Regions from separate parts of the Homo sapiens genome. Here all the other regions are linked to region 7. Evidence: promoter capture Hi-C in 16 types of primary human blood cells and fetal thymus (Javierre and others, 2016). All regions are on one chromosome and are shown on one strand. The core of a region is centred on a gene start or on the middle of the fragment in contact, and the rest is flanking DNA. Distances in the headings are between cores, read along the strand shown. Region 1 has its middle 16 kb from the start of LNCBRM. Region 2 overlaps LNCBRM (lncRNA SMARCA2 (BRM) associated). Region 3 overlaps LOC101928505 (a long non-coding RNA gene). Region 4 overlaps RMEL3 (enriched in melanoma 3). Region 5 has its middle 58 kb from the start of LNCBRM. Region 6 has its middle 140 kb from the start of LNCBRM. Region 7 holds the start of GAPT (GRB2 binding adaptor protein, transmembrane).

What was found. Contacts are between HindIII fragments. The CHiCAGO score rates a contact against its expected background, and 5 or more counts as called.
Region 1: a fragment that was not itself captured here is called in contact with the fragment with the promoter of GAPT in region 7 in 1 of 17 cell types (naive CD8 T cells); the score reaches 5.2 in naive CD8 T cells.
Region 2: a contact is called between a fragment that was not itself captured here and the fragment with the promoter of GAPT in region 7, in 1 of 17 cell types (total CD4 T cells). The highest score is 5.1, in total CD4 T cells.
Region 3: a contact is called between a fragment that was not itself captured here and the fragment with the promoter of GAPT in region 7, in 1 of 17 cell types (naive CD4 T cells). The highest score is 6.2, in naive CD4 T cells.
Region 4: a contact is called between a fragment that was not itself captured here and the fragment with the promoter of GAPT in region 7, in 2 of 17 cell types (non-activated CD4 T cells and total CD4 T cells). The highest score is 6.2, in non-activated CD4 T cells.
Region 5: a contact is called between a fragment that was not itself captured here and the fragment with the promoter of GAPT in region 7, in 1 of 17 cell types (naive CD4 T cells). The highest score is 5.4, in naive CD4 T cells.
Region 6: a contact is called between a fragment that was not itself captured here and the fragment with the promoter of GAPT in region 7, in 1 of 17 cell types (total CD8 T cells). The highest score is 5.3, in total CD8 T cells.

What each region holds. Positions count from the first base shown.
Region 1 is chr5:57,553,146-57,555,845 of GRCh38, reverse strand. No RefSeq gene overlaps it. Among named protein-coding and RNA genes, the nearest start is that of LNCBRM, 16 kb to the left of the region's middle. The HindIII fragment of the contact is 4,979 bases long and covers 1-2,700 here.
Region 2 is chr5:57,589,948-57,592,647 of GRCh38, reverse strand. The region is part of intron 4 of LNCBRM (lncRNA SMARCA2 (BRM) associated); the gene reads right to left. The region is part of intron 1 of LOC124901182 (a long non-coding RNA gene); the gene reads left to right. Among named protein-coding and RNA genes, the nearest start is that of LNCBRM, 21 kb to the right of the region's middle. The HindIII fragment of the contact is 2,324 bases long and covers 157-2,480 here.
Region 3 is chr5:57,667,177-57,669,876 of GRCh38, reverse strand. It overlaps LOC101928505 (a long non-coding RNA gene), which reads right to left. Exons shown (of 3, transcript NR_104668.1): 3 at 1-187. Among named protein-coding and RNA genes, the nearest start is that of LNCBRM, 98 kb to the right of the region's middle. The HindIII fragment of the contact is 221 bases long and covers 1,223-1,443 here.
Region 4 is chr5:57,524,927-57,527,626 of GRCh38, reverse strand. All of the region lies in intron 3 of RMEL3 (enriched in melanoma 3), which reads right to left. Among named protein-coding and RNA genes, the nearest start is that of ACTBL2, 43 kb to the right of the region's middle. The HindIII fragment of the contact is 5,240 bases long and covers 1-2,700 here.
Region 5 is chr5:57,626,638-57,629,337 of GRCh38, reverse strand. No RefSeq gene overlaps it. Among named protein-coding and RNA genes, the nearest start is that of LNCBRM, 58 kb to the right of the region's middle. The HindIII fragment of the contact is 1,432 bases long and covers 578-2,009 here.
Region 6 is chr5:57,710,892-57,713,591 of GRCh38, reverse strand. No RefSeq gene overlaps it. Among named protein-coding and RNA genes, the nearest start is that of LNCBRM, 140 kb to the right of the region's middle. The HindIII fragment of the contact is 181 bases long and covers 1,360-1,540 here.
Region 7 is chr5:58,490,147-58,492,846 of GRCh38, reverse strand. GAPT (GRB2 binding adaptor protein, transmembrane) reads right to left here and starts at 1,412. Exons shown (of 3, transcript NM_001304431.2): 1 at 1,306-1,412. The HindIII fragment of the contact is 6,945 bases long and covers 1-2,700 here.

The DNA.
Region 1 (2,700 bases), core at 68-2,567, 940 kb after region 7:
ATGAAAATGTTACCTTACATGGCAAAAGGGACTTTGGAGATGTGGTTAAGAATCTTGAATGGAGAATATGTGCCACATTTTCTTAATCCAGTCTATCACTGATGGACATTTGGGTTGGCATTAGGAGAAACACCTAATGTAAATGATGAGTTAATGGGTGCAGCAAACAAACACGGCACATGTATACATATGTAACAAACCTGCACATTGTGCACATGTACCCTACAACTTAAAGTATAATAAAAACAAAATCTTGAATGGAAAGATTCTCCTGATTATTTTAGTGGGTCCAATGTAATCACAAGAGAGAGGTAAGAGAGTCAAAGTCAAAAAAGGAGATGTGCCCATGAAACTGAGTTAAAGAGATGCATCTTGAAGATGAAGGAAGGGGCAGTGAGCCCAGAAAGGCAGACAGACTCTAGAAGCTGGCATAGGTGAGAAAACAGATTTTCCTTAGAAGCCTCTGGAAGAAATGCAGCATTGCCAACACCTTGATTGTAGACTTCTAACCTCCAGAACTATAAGGAAATAACTCTGTGCTGATTTTAGCCATTAAGTCTGTGGTAATTTGTTACAGCAGCAAAAGGAAACTAATACTCCTCCCCTGCCTCCATCATCCAAGGAGCCGACACCAGCAAACCATGTTTCCCACACCTCCTTGCCACTTGCCTTCAGTTCTGCTCAGCAATGCTTCTGGCTGACCTGTGATGAGTGGGAACGCCAGGGTGGGGTATGCTCCCTCCAGCCATCCTAAGGGAAGGGTTTACCCAAAGTCTAACTCCTATCCTGGTGTATTAGTTTGCTAGGGCTGCCATAACAAGTGCTGGAAAGACACTGGAGGCTGGAAGGAAGACAGAAGCAAGGGTGCTAGTTCCCCTCTCCTGCTCTGGACCATGCCCAGCAGTTGTTATATCTCTTCAGTGGTCTCAATTCCTATCCTTATTACCCAAGATCGCAGGCTCTAGAAACACTACCACCTCCCTTTCTCCCATCGACCCCATCTTTGAGTGGTTATAGCTCTTCTAATAACACCTTTATTATGAATTTAGCATATTAAACTCCTCCTATTAAAGTACCTGACGAGGGCTATGTTTTCTCAGCTGCGTCCCTTTAAGGCCCAGCCATATGTCTAAGGTTGGCTTCTTCTTATTACCTATAGTAGTGTTGCTTATTCACAGTGGTTAAGATGGGTGCTATATTTAAAATCCTCTCCCACACCTTTAGATCCCCTGGCAGAGTAACATTAATGGCTTTCCGGGGGATTGGCAGCATTTTCCCTTCTTCATGCCCAGCTTCTGTCACCATAACGAACAGGATAACTCCTCACGATAGTAGTTAAGTTGTAATTTTATTAGTTTATGCAAACTGGTATAATTCAGGTGTGGAGCAGTCAGATTTTTTTCCGTGCTCTAGTGACCTAGAAAAATTAGAGTGACAATATCATGAGGAATTCTTTTTTTTTTTTTTAGTCAGCCTAAATTTCACTGGGAAATCAGAAAACACATTTTTTGATGTGTGAAATGAAAGCTCATTCTCCTCAATTTTACTTAGTTTTCTTTCTGTAGTTGAGGTAAATAGGCAAGACTGTATTTCAGACATCACTAAATGAGAACATCATTTGAAACAACTCCATAGACTATTCCTTCTTCAGTTTTATTTGCCCAGGTCTGGGGAGTAGTGGTCTTTTCAGTCATAACACTGGCCCCTGTAAGTAGAATCTCAAGGTTTAACTCCTTTCCTGGTGTATTAGTTTGCTAGGGCCGCCGTAACAAGGTACCACAAATTGGGTGGCTTACGCAACAGAAAATTATTCTCTCACCCTTCTAGAAGCTAGAAATTCAAAATCGAGGTGACACCAGGGTTTGTTCTTTCTGAGGGCTGTGAGGAAGAATCTATTCTATGCCTCTCCCCTATCTTCTCATTGTGTGCTGGTCTTGGTGTTCCTTGGCTTATAGAGGCATCACTCCAGTTTCTGTCTGCCTTGATCTTCACATGGTATTCTCCCTGTGTGCCTGCATCCAAGTTTTCTCCAATCATAAATATAACGTACGTATTGGATTAAGGCCCACCCTAATGACCTCATTTTAACTTGACTACTTCAGTAAAGACCCTATCTCCAAATAAGGTCACATTCTGACGTATTGGGGAATATGTCTTCAAAATATGAATTTGACAGAAGGGACACAATTCAACCCATAGCATCTGATCTCCAAGGAAAGCCTTTTGGTATTCATGTCTTTAATTCAGGTAGACTGGGTTTATGTGCCTTCTACTTTTAATGTATTCACAGGTTTCTCTATGTCAGTGCCAAACACAAAACTCATTTGACCCAAAGGCCTTTTTCTCTATTTTTAATGTTCTTTTCACTGAGAATTGGAAGATTAACTTTAGGAAACTTTCCCCTTTAATCTTGAACATACTAAAGCAGACTGAGGATACTGTCCTAGATTCCATTTATTATTATTTGCAAATTAAGAATCACAATGAACGGGTAATATCGAGTTGTGTATTCCTATTAGTCAAGTCCTTTGAAGTCAGAACAATGGTAAAATATTTTCAGGCTATGTGACAGGAGTAAGAATAGGTGAAACACTGCAGACCCAGGAAGACATCCAGTCATTACACACTGCTAATGCAGAACTAGAACCACTCTGATGGATGTTCCTCTTCTTTTCCCCAAAACCCCTTAATTAATAAATT
Region 2 (2,700 bases), core at 69-2,568, 900 kb after region 7:
TTTATAAAGGGTGGCCTCCAGACCAGTGACTCTCAATCCTAGCTTCCACTTTAGAATCTGCTGGTAAACTTTAACAATACTGAGACTTGGCCCCATACCAGCATATATGAACCAGAATCCTGACAATGGGGTCTTGACGTGATTTTTTTATAAGCTTCCAGATGACTCTACTGTGAGTCAAGGTTGGAAGACACTGGATTTGACAGGTCAGTTTTCATTGCAACCTCAACGTCAGCTGAAATCGTCCCACCCTAGATAATCTAGATAAGATTTTCTGAAACCCCATTCACAACTTGTGGAAAGTCCAATGCCCTTGCCAAGATTTCTGTAAATTTGCTAGGGCACTTGTGGTTCTCTGGTAGGGTGGCCAGATGTAGTAAATAAAAATACAGGACATCTAGTTAAATTTGAAAAAATAGTTTGACAGAGGAGTTTTGCCTTTCATTGGGAAAAGGCTGAATCTAAGATGTTTAGGGCGTCCTGACAAAGTCAACACATGCTTCAGGACAAAAAACATAAAATACAAGGGCATGGTCTGTATACACAGGATGCTGGAAACCTTGTAATCCATGTATACCCTCAATCCAAGCTCTTTCTCTCATTGAATTGGTTTGATCTACTTGCAGTCCTACATGTTTTGTGATGGTTCTGCATATATGAATTTAGATGTACATCTTATTTCTTGTCCAAAAAAGCAATACAATGCCTTTGTGGATGAAGCTGACTTTGCTAAAGGTCTGAGGAGGAAAAAAGTGTTAATACTGCAGCAACACAAACAACCAAAGATGAAACATAAAGCACGATGTCCAATATGGTTGTTGTCATGTCACTATATTGTTTAGTCTTTTCCTCTTCCTCTTCCTCTTCCTCTTCTCTCCTCTCCTCTTTGCTCTGTTCTTCCCCAGACTCAAATTCCCATTCTTTTCTAATGGAGAGTGATTTAGCAATCTCTCTAGTTTCCTTGTCTCCTTCTCTCTGAAATGCCTTTACCAGTTTATGGTCCTAAACAAAGATAGGCCCTTCTTTATCAGGGATTCTACTGCCACCCAGAAAGACATTTATTTTTCACCGAGTTTCATGATTATGTTAATATTTTCTATGTCAACAAATACTAATTTTGAGTCTTCTGAGTTTGAAGGACTGTTTCTGCACTTCCGGTTTTCAATAAGGGAGAGTTCCTTCTGCTTTACAATCAACACCGGCCTCCTTGAGTGGACTGATTTGAGCTAGAAAAACTCAATTGCCTAAAACTACACAGTCCATTAGCCTTACTTAGTAGCTGGAATTTACAATGCTACTAAGTCAGCCATTGCGTTTAATGCAGTTTTCCAACATATGCTAATTATTACAATTACCTGCGCCTGTTAATAGTATAGTTTCCTATTCCCAGCTCAGGCTTAGAGAATCAGAACCATGATGGGGGTGATTTCAATGATTAGCCAAGTTTAGGAAACACTGGTCTAAGCACTTGAAGGCCCAGTTAAAATGCAAATAAAGGCATTTTCAATATGGAAAGATTAACATAAACTGGTTCAACGGAGGCGTCCTGGCGTGAAGATCCAGCATGGCAATTCACCTTATATCTCCAAGACTAATTCTCATCTGTTCAGTGGCTGGGCTAGAATAATCTCTGATGTTTCTTCCAACTCTAGTATCCCATGATTCTACACCCACTAGATCCTTATAATTAGGCTTCTAGGCTATAGTCCAGGGGACTAATATATGGGGAGGGAATAATGCCAGAAAGAGACAAATTTTAAGAAGCCAAGGAGTGAGAAGGGAAGTAAAGTCTTGGAAAAGATACTCTAAGCTGGGGGGATCCCAGATTTTTTAGAACTTAGAGTTCAGTGGGAACACAAAAACAACAGGTGCTTGAGGGAGCGAGCAGTGACTAAGAGGACAGAAGAGCATCCCCAGGGCACTTGATTACTGAACTTTAGGATAATCTTATGCAGAGCCACCTCTTTTTCTCTTCATATAGAAATTAACAGTCAGATGTCCTCAATATTCCTGAGGGGTAGGCCAGCCTACTGCACTAATAATTGTAGCACAGGTGTAAAATAAAATCAAATAAAAAATAAAATAAAATAAGATAAAATAAGCTGTGTGATCTTACTAAAATACTAATGGAATAAGCTCTTTCCTTATCCAACATACCCCAACATTCTGCTCAGCACACACGCAATCAAAGTGTGCTGACCCAGACATTGGTTAAATTTAACCAGTGTGTACACGCAGTTTCCACTCAGGTGCAACATTTAGAAAATAATCTGCATTTTGTTAGATGTGCCATGGAAGAGAAGTGTCAGAGTCAGGATTAGGGATTCATGAAGGGCAGAGAGAGGGAAAGGGCAGTTTAGATGACATTTACCCTTTTAAAAACAGCCGCTCATCACCCAGGTGGAGGGACCCCCGTAGTTACTCCATTACTTAGAAATGATTTGATGTCTGAACAATTTTTGAATTCAGATATGAAAGCTTCAAATCATTCATGCAAAACAAAAAGATAACATATGTCCACTTATACTCATTGTTTACATAAAACTAGCATAGAAGAAAATCTAAAATGGTGATAGAAGTTTCAAAGCAATAATAGTAACTATTCCAAAGAAGTATAACCAAACAATTAAAAGACCTAAAATGATTAAGTCAGGCAACATTTCTGGGATGTTAAGACAAAATGAGAGAGAGGAAAGAAGA
Region 3 (2,700 bases), core at 84-2,583, 820 kb after region 7:
TGCCTTCCGCTGTGATTGTAAGTTTCCTGAGGCCTCCCCAGGCATGAGGAACTGTGAATCAATTAAACCTCTTTTGTTTATAAATTATCCAGTCTCAGGTAGTATTTTTACATCAGGATGAGAATGAACACAAAGAATCTTCACCTTCAAAGCTACCTTAGTCTGCAAATGACTGCCAAGAAGTCATCTGGAAATAGGCAGAAAGAATCAGTGAGAATTATAATGATTTATGAATTTTTCCACTTTAAGCACCTAAATATGTACATATGAATCAAAGGACATATGTGATGTTATTGAATCCAGTAGTCCCTAACCTTGCGGTCACCAAGAAGCCTTCTTATTTTTCAGCAGTGCACTCTGTGTCAAAGATTTGTTTACTGAAGCAAATAACTATGAATTACTGAGGGCTTACTTTGTACCTGGTATTATAATAAGCATTTTACATACAGAATCTCATCTGATATTTTTTAAAAACTATAGGACAGGGACTATCAGTCACTATTTTATATATGAAGAAACTGAAGGCAGCTAAGGTCGAGTGATATAAGATCACAAAGCCAGTGGAATTGATATTATTGAATCTAGTATCTATGATCTGCTCATTTAAGTAAATATAGATTTCCAATAATAAATAATTTCTGGGGCAAATATTTGCTTAATTGCCTATACATGCACAGGATATATACATAGTCTCTGGAACTGAATTTTTATTAGTCCAACTTTGTCAAGGGAGTGAGACATAGAACAGAATGCATGGCTATTTCTATTTAGATGAAGCAAAGACTATATTTCACAGAGCATATGTCTTCGCTATTCTAGATTATTTGCTCATTCTTTAAATAGAAAATCTTCAAGAAACCAGCAAACTGAGATACCAAGAAGATAGTAAATTTAAAGGGACTATTAACTGAAGATCACCTAACATCATCATCTTTTTTGTGTGAAGTCTGCTCTGAAATGTGATTCAGGAGCAAGAAGATGCCAGTTATAGATTGCCTAGAATACCGAGTTAACCTAAAGAGAACTTTGGAAGGTGTTTCAGTTAACAGGGGATTTAGCAGTGACAGCTGAAAAGAAATTAACAGCACCAAATTTCAAGACATAAAACTCTTCAATTTATTTCTGGCAACATTTCTAAAACTCACAGTAACTATTTTACTTGGGTATTATCAGGTGAAATTTGTGGCTTTCTTCAGGAGCTAGTCACCCATTTACAAAAGCTTATAATCTTTAAGCTACTACTGACCTATCAATTATAGAGAATTTGGATGCTAAACATGGCATTTGAGCAAGCCAGCAGAACCTGTGATTCAGGTTTCTGCTCTCTGACCTCTAGGATTAGTGTTCTGAGGATTACACTATAATATCTTTAGTTTTTACAGCACCTTTTTCCAGAGTAAGGGGCAAGAATTTTTCTCTTTATTTTTCCAGAGAAGCAAAGCTTCTGAGGAAAAGCTTAGCCCTCTACAGCTGGTAAATATTTTCCAGTGAGGGGAGCAGCCGGCCATGGCAATAACCAGAGTTCTAGTCGTGTCTCTGGCCCATGCCTCTCTATAACTGGAGACTAGTCCCCCAGTTTTCTCCATTTCTGCAGCTGTAAAAAAGGATTATGACTAGCTGTCAAACAGGGCAGGCCTCTAACATTTATGGGTCCTAGGATATAAATATAAATAGACACTTTCAAATGCTCTGTTTTTCCTACCCTCCCTCACTGTCCTACATATGAGGGGTGTCATGTGGATACTTGTGGGTATAGTCAGGTATGAATATACCCATCCTCTCAAATAGCTGCCCCTCAGCCAACCCTGTGGCCTAGGGTTGAAAGCTCAGGGCTTCCTGGGGTCTCACATGCTGAAAGTGGAGCTGGGAGAGATGCAGACCCTGGATGGGGGCATCCCTTTTGCCATTCAGACTCCTCCCCGCTTGACGAATGGCAAAGCTAGAGGAAGAATAGAATGGACCCCTCTGAAGTGCAGGACCCTGGGCAAGAATCCAATTGCCCAGGTCTGAGGTGTCATGAACACTGATGAGAGACTGAGAAAGCAGAGAAGTGATTTGGGGAATAGGGAAGAAAAACAACAGGTCCTCTCCCCAACCAGTTAAAGATCAAACAGAAAAGTAAAACATTCATATGCATACAGTATGGGGCAAATGAAAAACCTACGTTTTATCTCTATCTTTACAGGGTTTCTTTTTCCAGAAGATGCATGTTTGGAATTCTGCAAGAACTCCTGATCACTTTAAAATGCCAATGCCTTTATTTTCAAGATGTACAGTTTCTGTCTTTTATCAAATAGAGGAACAAAATCTATTCTTCCAAAAAAAGGAAAAATGCACAATATCCAAATAAATTTTCCCCAGCTGCTTGCTGGATATTGGAATTAGATAACATGACATAAGAAGAATTTTGGTCTAATCCTAAGAAGGGAGTATGGTTGGTTCTCCTTTTCACTTAACATCTTAATCTCTTCCCCCGCTTTAAAAAGGAAGATCTATTTAATATCAAAATAACATGATGGTTTATGATGTTGGAGCTGAGAGACACAAGAGGCTGATTCAGTAAGTAAAGGTAATCAAGTAGTGGTTAGTAGCAAAAAAAAAAAAATTGACAAAGAGAAGGTAGAGCTCTCATCTGCCTTTGAGGCAGGAGGAAAAAATATTTCCTAGGCATAACAAGAAATGCATGGTAAGAAAATTCAC
Region 4 (2,700 bases), core at 107-2,606, 970 kb after region 7:
TCCAATTACGTAGGAAAAAATAATGCCATTTAAACAAGAATCAAGAAAGGAAATTTGAAAAGTAAATTCAGAGAGTGAAAGCAAACACTTTCAGAGTCAAAGATAATACCAAGAAGACAAAAAGATAACATCAAAATAAACTCTAAGAGTGGTCTATTATGATATTCTGTATTGTCCAACAGTTCTAGAATTGCCATTTAGTATTTTCATATTCAGAAAGGGAATGTAATTCAATGTAAAGATAGTCTTAACAAAAGACTAGGGTGCCAGAAAGTAAAAAGAAAGCTACGAACTAAAAATTCAAATTAAATCATTACCCCAGATTTGTTGTTTGATGACAGTCTATTTCTATTACAGACTTTTTGCATAAAGGAAAACTGTGGCTTTGGAAAACATTTTAGAAAACATCCAGTTTATCCTTCAGTTATTAGAGAAGTTTCTCAAGTGCAGAGAACTTGTGCCATCACAAAGGGCAGTTAGCAAGAGAGAGTGCAACACAAGAAGAGAATCAGGACCAGTATCAGAACTAGAATCAAAAGTGTGCTCTTAACCCTAACCATTCTAGGAAGAAGGCTTTCATCAATGTCCTAGGTAGAAGAGATTGGTGGTTCATGCCAGAATGACCTTTTACATCAGTGGTTTTTAAATTTTGAGCTAAAGAACTCTTCCAACCAAACCTCATTTACAGGCCCAGTATAAACAGACAAAAGAGGATCTAATCTACTATGGAAAAGAGCCATGAAATCCACCTTTTCAGGTCTCCCTCAGCCCATAAAGCCACTCAGTTGGACATGGTGGTACATGGTATGAAAACCAATGGCTTTAAATCATACTCATATATTAGGATTTAAATTTGCTGTATGGGGAGATTAAATGTACATTTAAAATGTGTATATATATATAGTATTTACATAAATACACATGTAAATATATTGCATTCGTCCATTTTGCATTTCTATACAGGAATACCTGAGACTGGGAAATTTATAAAGAAAAGAGGCTTATCTGGCTCACTGTTGTGCAGGCTGTACAGACAGCATAGTTCCAGCATCTGCTTCTCATGAGGCCTCAGGAAGTGTTCACTCATGGTGGAAGGTGAAGGAGAAGCAAGTGTGTCATATGCTAAGAGAGGGAGCAAGAGAGAAGGGGAGAGGAGGTTCCAGGCTCTCTTGAAACAACCAGCTCTTGTGTGAACTAATAAAGCAATAACTCAGTTATTACTACAGGGAAGGCACCAAGCCCTTCCTGAAGGATCTGTCCGCATGACCCAAACACCTCCCCGTAGCCCCACCTCCAACACTGGGGATCATATTTCAACATGAAATTTGTAGGGAACAAATATCCAAATCATATCGTATATCTCTTTAATACATAAAAATGAATTTACATTAACTTTTCAATAAAGCTGGTGTCTGTCTGAGGTCCAGAGTTTATTGAGGACCATCTGAATCTGGTGAGAGTTTCCACCTTTGGAGTCACTGTCCTGATGGGTACACCAGGCTTAGGATCACACAAAGCAGGTGCCTAATACAGCCCAGCTCCATATGTGTTGACTACATAACACCTGTCTTCTATTTAAAGACATTCCTTGGAAAGCATATTCAGGAATAGTCTATAAAATCCAATGACTAGGTTATCCGAAAGTCTGAGAATAGCTTTGGTAAAGTAAATTACTTTGGTAAAGGAAGCAGAAGTAGGGCTAAAAAAAAGGCCAAAGTAAATCTAAAACTAGAACACAGTCTTTTGCCTAAGTACAATGTACATTAATAGTTTATGGTTCTCTGGACTGTTTTGTTTTTGTTCTTTTTCATTTATTTGTCTTGCTCTTGCTTTTTTTTACCTAGATATTTGCCATTTAGAAATCTTTATCAAACTATCCACAATGACATCTATGTATGTGATGTCCTCTGGGTCATTGGAGTACACAGCCCACTGACATGTACTACACAGAGCTGCACTGAGATTACTATGAGGTGGGGAGCAGAGGGTGAGATATGATCTGCGACAGACTCTAGAATAAATAAGCCCCAAGTTTCCACCTTATCTCAACTGTAATGAATGCATAATGGAAATGAAATCATAGCTATGTATCCATTTCATTTGACATTTTTTATGGGTTAAGGAAAATAAGAAGAGCAGACTCAGATCAGCACTTTCCCGGCAGACAAGTCAGAAAAAAAATGAGCTAGTTAGTTGTGCTTTATGGATCAATTCTTAAAACAAATGGAAGGGTTCACTCCACGCATTCATCCATTTAGACTTATAAATAAAAACTAAGTGAGAAGCATTCAGTCACTCTTCAGAAGGCTTTGCTTGAGAACTGAGGGATGTGCCTCTCAAACTCCCTAACCCTCCCGTTCTCTTCAACAGTAAACCAGGCTGTCTTTTACCACCAAGATTCTGAGACCCAGAAACAAAGACACAACAAGCCAGAGTTCTCTGAATTTTAAGGAACTGGAAATTAACAGGGTGAGGCTTGGAAAGAGGAGCTCTTCCTTCTCTTTCTAATGAAATCCCTCAGAGAGAAACCCCCTTTCCATTTGAATGAAAACCAGAAATGGCAGAGATTATATTAAAAAAAATTTTTTAAAACATTGTCTTCAGTTGCTGTGAAATGAGAGATTATTTTCAAATTTCCTAGGAATAAATTTCACCAGCTGGGTAAACTTTGTAGTTCAGAGGTCTCGCAGGCAATTGCTG
Region 5 (2,700 bases), core at 44-2,543, 860 kb after region 7:
GAGCAGAAGTTAATTATCAGTAGCAGTCAGCCGTTCTAACATATGTCGGCATTTGAACTTCATTTCTCGGATCCCTTATTATTATAGCCAATAAGCCATAATTAACAAGCCTTTAAAATCTGAACCAACATTAAAATGAAAAAACATTGATGGCACAGATAAAATTAATATATTGTTTCATGATGAATGTAGTACATTAAGATGATTAAAAAATTTTAAACATGGGCTCAATGAGAGAAAATTAATAGAAGGTATTGCTGGCGATGAATTGGTTGAAAAACCTTACCTAGTTTAATACATTTCTTTCATTCACAGGGGAACTGGTATTTTCATAGAGGAGTAGTAAATTGCTTAGATTTATGCAAGTAAGTGGCAGAGCTAGAAACCAGCTCTTACTCAAGGTATGTACCTCTCAACCATGTTATATCTTCTTTGACAACATAGAAATATGGTGTGTGCAGCCACATTCTAAATGTTCTGACTTTCTAACTCATATAAATCCAGCTGCCTGCTTCATTTGAAATTCACACAGGATCTCAAACTTAATAGACTTGAAACTTAACTCAGCCCCCAAGCTTACTTCTTGCCCATTTTCCTCAAGTCATTAAATAAGCATTCCCTAGATTCTCAAGACAGAAATTTGACGGTTCAGAATGATTTATTCCCCTGCTTTAATACTAATATTCAATCACTGACAAGTCCTAACATTTCTTCCCCCAAAACATATTTTGATTCCATCTGCTTCTCTCCATCTTCGCTCCCACCACAATAACTCAGGTAACTAACAGCTCCTGTCTAGGAGACCACCACAGCATCCTACCTGGTTTCCATTCTTCTCCCTTCCCACCTCTACCACCCATCTATTTTCCTTACAGTAGAGTGGTCTTTAAAATATGAACCTGGGAATACAACTTCCTTGCTTAAAAATCTTTGAGTATCACCTTTTTACACCTTGGTTTCTTGTGCGCTACTGACACTTTAGACCAGCTAATTCTTTGCTGTTGGGGGTGGCTATCCTGTGCATTGGAAGATACTTAGCAGCATCCCCGGTTTCTCATCACCAGATGCCAGTAGCATCCCCACATAAACAGTGGCGAAAATAAAAAATGTCTCAGGCCTGGACAAATGTCCCATGCAGGGCAAAATCACCCCTGGTTGAGGACCACAGGTTTTCTCATATGACAAATTTAAACTTTCACATTTAAAGTCCTTTTAACTGCTACTGACTACAAACCTCTAAGGAAGATCTCAAAAAATACTAGTTGAAGTCCAGTCAAATGACTGAATTGGCCAGTAAAGAGAAAACTGTCTATCTATAGACTAAAAAAATATGTCAACAAGAGTTATTGACAAATTCAACATGACTCAATCTAAAGCTGTGGTTAAGGACAAAGGAGGTAAAAGTCGTCAATGCCACATTAACAAAGCAAGCAGAAGAACAGCTCTCAGTGTACATCTCATTAGGAAGAAACAGAGAGACCTTTCTCAGGATGACCTTCAATCTTCTCATGCTAAGTCCTTTAAATGTTTCTCAAAGTTTCCTCAGACACCCTTCTCATTATACTCAGGCCCTAGGTTGCCTCGTTTACTTCAATACTCTCAATAACTATCTAGTGCTGATTAATCTCAATTTCATATTTTCAGCTCAGATCTCTTTCCTGAACTGAAAGTATATGGCTACACTTTCCAGCTGGGCACCCCACTTGTATAGATGCCTCAGATCCACATATCTAGGACAACACTCAAGCCAGAGGCATTTTCAAATTTAAGTCATAATAGCAAAGAAATTGGGGTGGAGCTGTGCTAAGATCATAGTGGTAACCATGCAGGAGGAGATAAGTGAGATTTTATAAACCCAATGTCCATGAACATCAGAGTATATTCATGACCTGCCTTCATAATTTCATGGGTTCATAATGCATGGGTGATTGGCCTGATAATAAAGACCAGATATGAAATGGACAAGAATCATGTTTAGAAAGGTTGAAGTTATCCTTGAGTGAAAAGCTTTCCATTTCATTTATTTAAAGAAAAAAAAAATCAGGAAATGGACCTTAAAAAATTATACATAAAAACAAATGGTACATTTTAACATATTTGTTATCAAACACATCATATTCCCACTTATGGCTCCAGGTAGTTAATAACTTTGCATGTAGTGATGCCAAGTCCCATTCAAGTCCCATTCAAGTCAGACCACCCATTCTCACCCAAAGACAGTGTAGTCTTAGACCTCTGCTCTGACAACATGTATTTCTTGCCAAGTGGGCCCTGTATTCACGTTCTAGTATATCTTGGCCTTGGCACCTGGATTGGTGGGAGCTATAATGAGAAGCAGTGTGTCCTGACATTAATATACCCTGAAGCAGTCTGTTCCAAATGAGGCAGCTCTGCAAGGCCCAGTGACCATCACAGAAAGTGCTGACACAGGATTTTCTTTAAAATTGGCCCAAGCAGTAATATAAGTCATTCCCAGAGGAGTTGGCTGTGTGGTTTACATTGGCTTCCATAGCATTCCTGTGATACCCAGGTTCTATTTCATCAGCAGTGGAGCTGTGGTGGCAAAATTCTAACAGATTGTCTTCTGAAAAAAAGCCTCTATTTTACTGCTTAAGAGAAATGCTTTGAAAAATTACAATGCATTTTTCACCAATCTCCTTTGAGTTCTATATTTTCACAACTTAGTACAAGTAATGCATA
Region 6 (2,700 bases), core at 201-2,700, 780 kb after region 7:
TAGGTCCCTCCCAAAACACGTGGGAATTCAGGATGAGATTTGGGTGGTGACACAGCCAAACCATTTTAGGCACTAAACTACTCATGAGGGCACCACCCTCATGACCTAATCATCTCCCAAGGCTCCATCTACTTACATCATCACCTCGGTGAATAGCATTCAACATATGAATTTGGAGGAGGTGGGGAACAGAAACATTCAGACTATAGCAGATAGATAGATAGATAAATAGATGATAGATAGATAGATAGTAGATAGACATAAAAAATAAATGTTTAAATAAAAAATAAATGTTAACACTTAGAGAATCTGGGTAAAGAGTATATGATCATTCTTTGTATCATACTGACAAATTTTTGTAAATCTGAAAATATGCCAAAATATTTATTTTTAAATTTGGGTTGGCTGGAAGGCAAGAACATATATGCAGAATACTACATGTGCTACCTCTCCTACCCAGAGGAACATTTTTCACAGCCCCATAGGTGCCTGCTCTGGCACCATGATTGAAATAGTGTAGGCATAGGACTAGCTGTCAGGAAATTTAGTATCAATTTGGATCCTAACCATGTTCCATGGAAAAGCTGTGTATCATCTCTGAGCTTCAGTGTTCTGATGTGAAAGGAGGCTTAAGCAAGATGATCTCTCCAAACATTAAATAGCTTTTGAAAATCTGCTATATGCTATAACTGAGATAGTTCTGCAAGCAAAGCATCTGCTCTCATGGAGATAATAGTCTAATGCAGATGGCAGATTTAAAACAAATTGTTATAGGTGTATAAAGTTCTGAAAGAGGAAAAAATATTTAAGAATATAAAACAAGGGGATCAAAGAACATACATTAAAGAGATATGAGTCTTGGGAGATCAGGGAATGCTTCCTCAGGGGAGCTGCAGTAAAGCTGCAGCCTAAATGTAGAATAGGGGTTAGCTGGTGTAGCTGGTAGAAGGCAGATAGGCAAGAGCACTCCAGGAAAAGAAACAATGTGCAAGATTTGAGGAAGGCCATTTCTTGGTATCTATGAAGAATTGAACAAAATCCAGGATATATGGACTGGAGAGAGAGTTCTCAGGCTAGAACTGCAATATTGGATAGAGAGGTGGGTAGGCAGGGAATGCCTCGTGGTGAATGCTGTCTCATGAATATTAAAACCACTTCTAAATCTATGATTCTGTTTAAAAAGGTATTTATATGTGAATATTTGACTTTAAAAAGGAATCCAAATTTCATAGGCCATTACAATATGGTTTAGCACTTAAATGTTTGGCTTATGGTAGTTACCCAGAAATATTTGTTGAATGTCAAGTATATTCATTACTCTATAGTTCTCCAGCCTAAGAGCTACCTCTGCTGAAAGCTTACTATATCACACAGGGCCTGGAAGTCATCATGAAATTACCAGCCTCTACCTTAGGGTCTGGCACAAGCAAATCTTGATGCTGACAGAGAAATCCATCAATAGTGACAGAAAGGGACACAGTCCTCAGCACAGAATGTTTGATGGCTGTGCAATTGTTTAAAGCCTGTAGTCAACCAAGCTTTGAAGTAAACATTGAATAATTGTCCCTTGGCTGGAAGACTGACGATGTCATCTAATATTTCCTGTCTGCAAATTAGAATTGCAGATTAGTTCATGGAAAGTTATATTATAATTTCTATAACTTCTCTTAAAAGAATAAATTTCACTCTCTTTGGGATTTATGTCACCTTGATTATAAGAGAAAAGCATATGTCCACATGGAAGATCAACAATAAATTCATGTTCCTATAAAATGGGGACAAAGTGGGTCAATAGCCTTAAATCAGCCAAGGCAAAGACAATTGGGCGCTATGGCGTTTTACTATGAGTCTGTGTCTGGATTCTTATCTTCTGCAGGGCCAATAAGACTGCTAACCTAATCTGCTGTTGTGCTCCAGCAAGGGAAAGTCATAGCACAAAGCCCAGTCATAGCATCTGCTTACTCACAGAAAGGCAGTGATTGTGTGCAGGGCCAGGAAGGAGGGTCTTCATGTGGATAATAGCAGGGACTTGACATTTCTGTAAACCAGCCTTGCTGGAAGTGCTTTGTATAACAACTAATATGGTGTAGTGTTAATGGGACCTAATAAACATGATGTAGAATCATCTCCCAACCCAGGGGTCTTGCCACAGTGAGAACTTATCCTTGGGTAATGAGAGAAAGAAATGTATTTCTTCCTGGCACATCTCTCCCAAGCTAAATAGGTCATAAGAAGAATCACTGTGGATCAGAATTGTGCCAGATAACCCCTGCACACCCTGTGACAGGTTGCTTTAGTTCAGCTCATAGAGAGGAAAATCTAACTTAGCTCTTGAAGACAATTTTATCAAATACCATCTCTGAATCAAAATCCATGTTTCTTAGTTTGGCATCCAAATCTCTCCATAATCTGGTTTAAGCTTCCCTTTTCAGTGCTTATGTCCTACCATCCTTTAGCCCAACTAGCTACACTCCCCAGTCCTGTTTCTCAGCACTCATATTCCATTGGTACCTTTCCCCCATCTTGACATGACCAAACTATTTCCAAGGTCCAGCACAAAAACAGTTCTTCTACAAAACATTTCCCTATGCCCATCCCTCTACATCTTCAGCTTCTGAAATCTCTTAGCTCTTTTCATTGTGCCCCTAATTTTGATTATTCTATTTTATGTCCAGATGTTGGAGTGTCATTTCTTCATTT
Region 7 (2,700 bases), core at 163-2,662:
TTAGACATTTGTTAATGAATGAAGTAATCTCCTTATGGGATAATAATAGTAACAATGAGAAGAAAAATAGAAATTCACAAAGTGGTGCTCTGCTTTCAGTGAGTTTTCATGAAAAGTTTAATGGTAATGAACGTTCATAAATTTGTCCAAGGTTAGAATATATTAATATGCAAATATTTAATTTGACATTTCATAAAAGAAAATTAAATAAGATGTGCAGCTAATTTATACAATTTTTTGATAAAAATACAGGGACAAGCACCCCAGATGCAGAAACATTTTAATCTCCTTGGAATTTTTGGGAGTAATATTGAGGTTGAGAACTGTATGGTCCGCCACATAAGATTTACAATCTGCAGGGTCCCTCCTTTATAAGGCCAGCCGTGCTTGTGTTCAAGGACAAAAGTTTAGCCAAATGACTTTAATCATTAGGACCTCATTTCCTGTCTGAAACAGATGAGCACCAATTATCTGCAAGATATTTTATGGTATACATGGTTAATGATTTAAGAAGTTATTTGCCAGAATATTTGAAATAAATTTACAAAATACACTTTAAGTATTGATTGAAATTAATCAACTTTTTGAAAGATACTAGGCCTGCAACAGAAGTCACGGTGAGGGTTGAGGAAGGCTAACTATTGTCACTTCTGTAGCTGAGGATAAGGCAATAAATTACTCTCTTAATTTTTAAGAAGAAAAGGCATTTTTACCATCTATGTTATTCTATGTAGAGTAGAAATTCTGGTACATCCAAAATATTAAAATTGTTTGTCTAAGAGATATTTACCAAGATAAAGACAAGAAGACTTTTTACAGAAAAAGAAATGCATCATTTTCTTCGAAATAACATTAGAGGAAAAAACCTGTGAGACATGAACAAAGACCTACTATAATGAAAAACATATTTTAAACAATAACCATTCAAATATAGTTTAACACTTAAATAATGTTCACTTTGACCAGTTTGAAAGAAGACTCTGTTTTCATTTTGGAAAGCAGTTCCAACAGGTTACCTAACAATTTGACATTTTTCTTAAAATCGCAAATTGTTGAGAAACTTCAGGAATTTTCAAGTAAGAGAATGCCCTGCTGTTTGGAAACAAGGTAACAGCAAAGCATAATCATATTGTAAAGAAACATTAACATCACTCTCAGTTTGTAAATTGGGTTTCCCCCTTACAGCTACGTAAGGCATTTTTTTCTAAAAACTGTAGTAAGATAAAAATCATTGATTAATTAAAGACAAACTTGTTTCTTATAGTGTTTAATCATCCAAATACCTTAAATCAGGTTCTTACTTACCTCAAGATTGGTGTGTCAAGCTCTCTCTTTTGTTCTTTTGGTTATGTTTTAAACCTGCATTGGGTTAGAACTTGTTCCTCTTTTTCACTTTGGTGGGTTACTTCCTTCTTTCCCTCCTTCGTTCACGCTATTTAATACTTGCAAAGTTTCCTGGCTCTAGAGGAAGTCAGTATCAGATGCAGCAGAATTAAGATAAATGGCGTGAGGTTTTGAATAAGGAAGTCTGGCCCTTCATCTTTGTCAAGTAATAGTTTTTTAACTGTGTCAGAAAATAATACGTAAAGCCTACATGGTTTTTTATTTGGGCCATATTTGCAGTTCCCACTTTAATATCAATAAAAGTCACTTCACTTGTACTTTGATTTTTTAAAAAAAGAAATATTTTAATTGTAGTAACACATAGGTCTTGGGCTTTTATTATTATTATTATTATTTACTTGTGTTGCTAGACCAGTCCTCTCTTCAAATATTAATATTATGTACCAATGCTCCCAAGTTATAGCCATACAGGTCAAATCAGTGTCCCAATTTGGGTTTGGAAAATGTTAACGTTCTTTTAAATTTATAAATAGGAATTTCCTAAGGTATGTTTTGAGGCCCATTACCCCTGAGATATGCTAGCAGCTCTTCCATCAAGTAAATGTGGGGAATACTGCTTCCCTGGAGATTCATGGGTACATCAGCATGCTAAAGGCTCTCAGCAGTCTTACAGCCAGCAAACAAAATAAAACCAAATAAGAAAAAGAAATTGTTTAACTTTGCTTAATAATAGTAGTCAGTATGTTCCTAGCACTAAGTACTCCAAACCTTTTGTGTAATACTCAGCAAATCTTGGCAACAACCCTGTGAGGGAGAAAAACTGTTATTAGTCCTATTTTACAGAAGAGGAAACAGAAGCACACAGAATGATCACTTGCCCGACAGAGCCTGCAGTTTGCCCCCAGCACCTGTGTGCTAAACCACTGCACTGGCTGCCTTGCTAGATTGAGTAACATGTTTCCCACATAGATACGCTTACCAAGAGCATCTCTTGGAGTCCAACTCATGGGAACACACACAGTGGGAGATGCTGAATTAGACAAATTACAGATGAATTCGACAGATGAGATGACAAAGTAATGGAAAATTTGTCTTTTAAGTTGTCTTGGAACTTTTTGAACCACAGAGGATTAACTTTGCATAAGGTGGTTTTAAAAAAGAGGATTTAGTTACTGAAATAACTACTGGACATTGGAAGGACAGGACGTATTATTAACACTTGCTGAGCACTGACATTATGCCAGGCATTGTGCTAAGAGATGAGGATGCAAGAGTGAATAAGCTCCCTGCAGCACTTAAAGCCAAGTAGAGAGGCTGCTGCGCCCACAGAACATTTCAGATCAAAGTGATAATGCC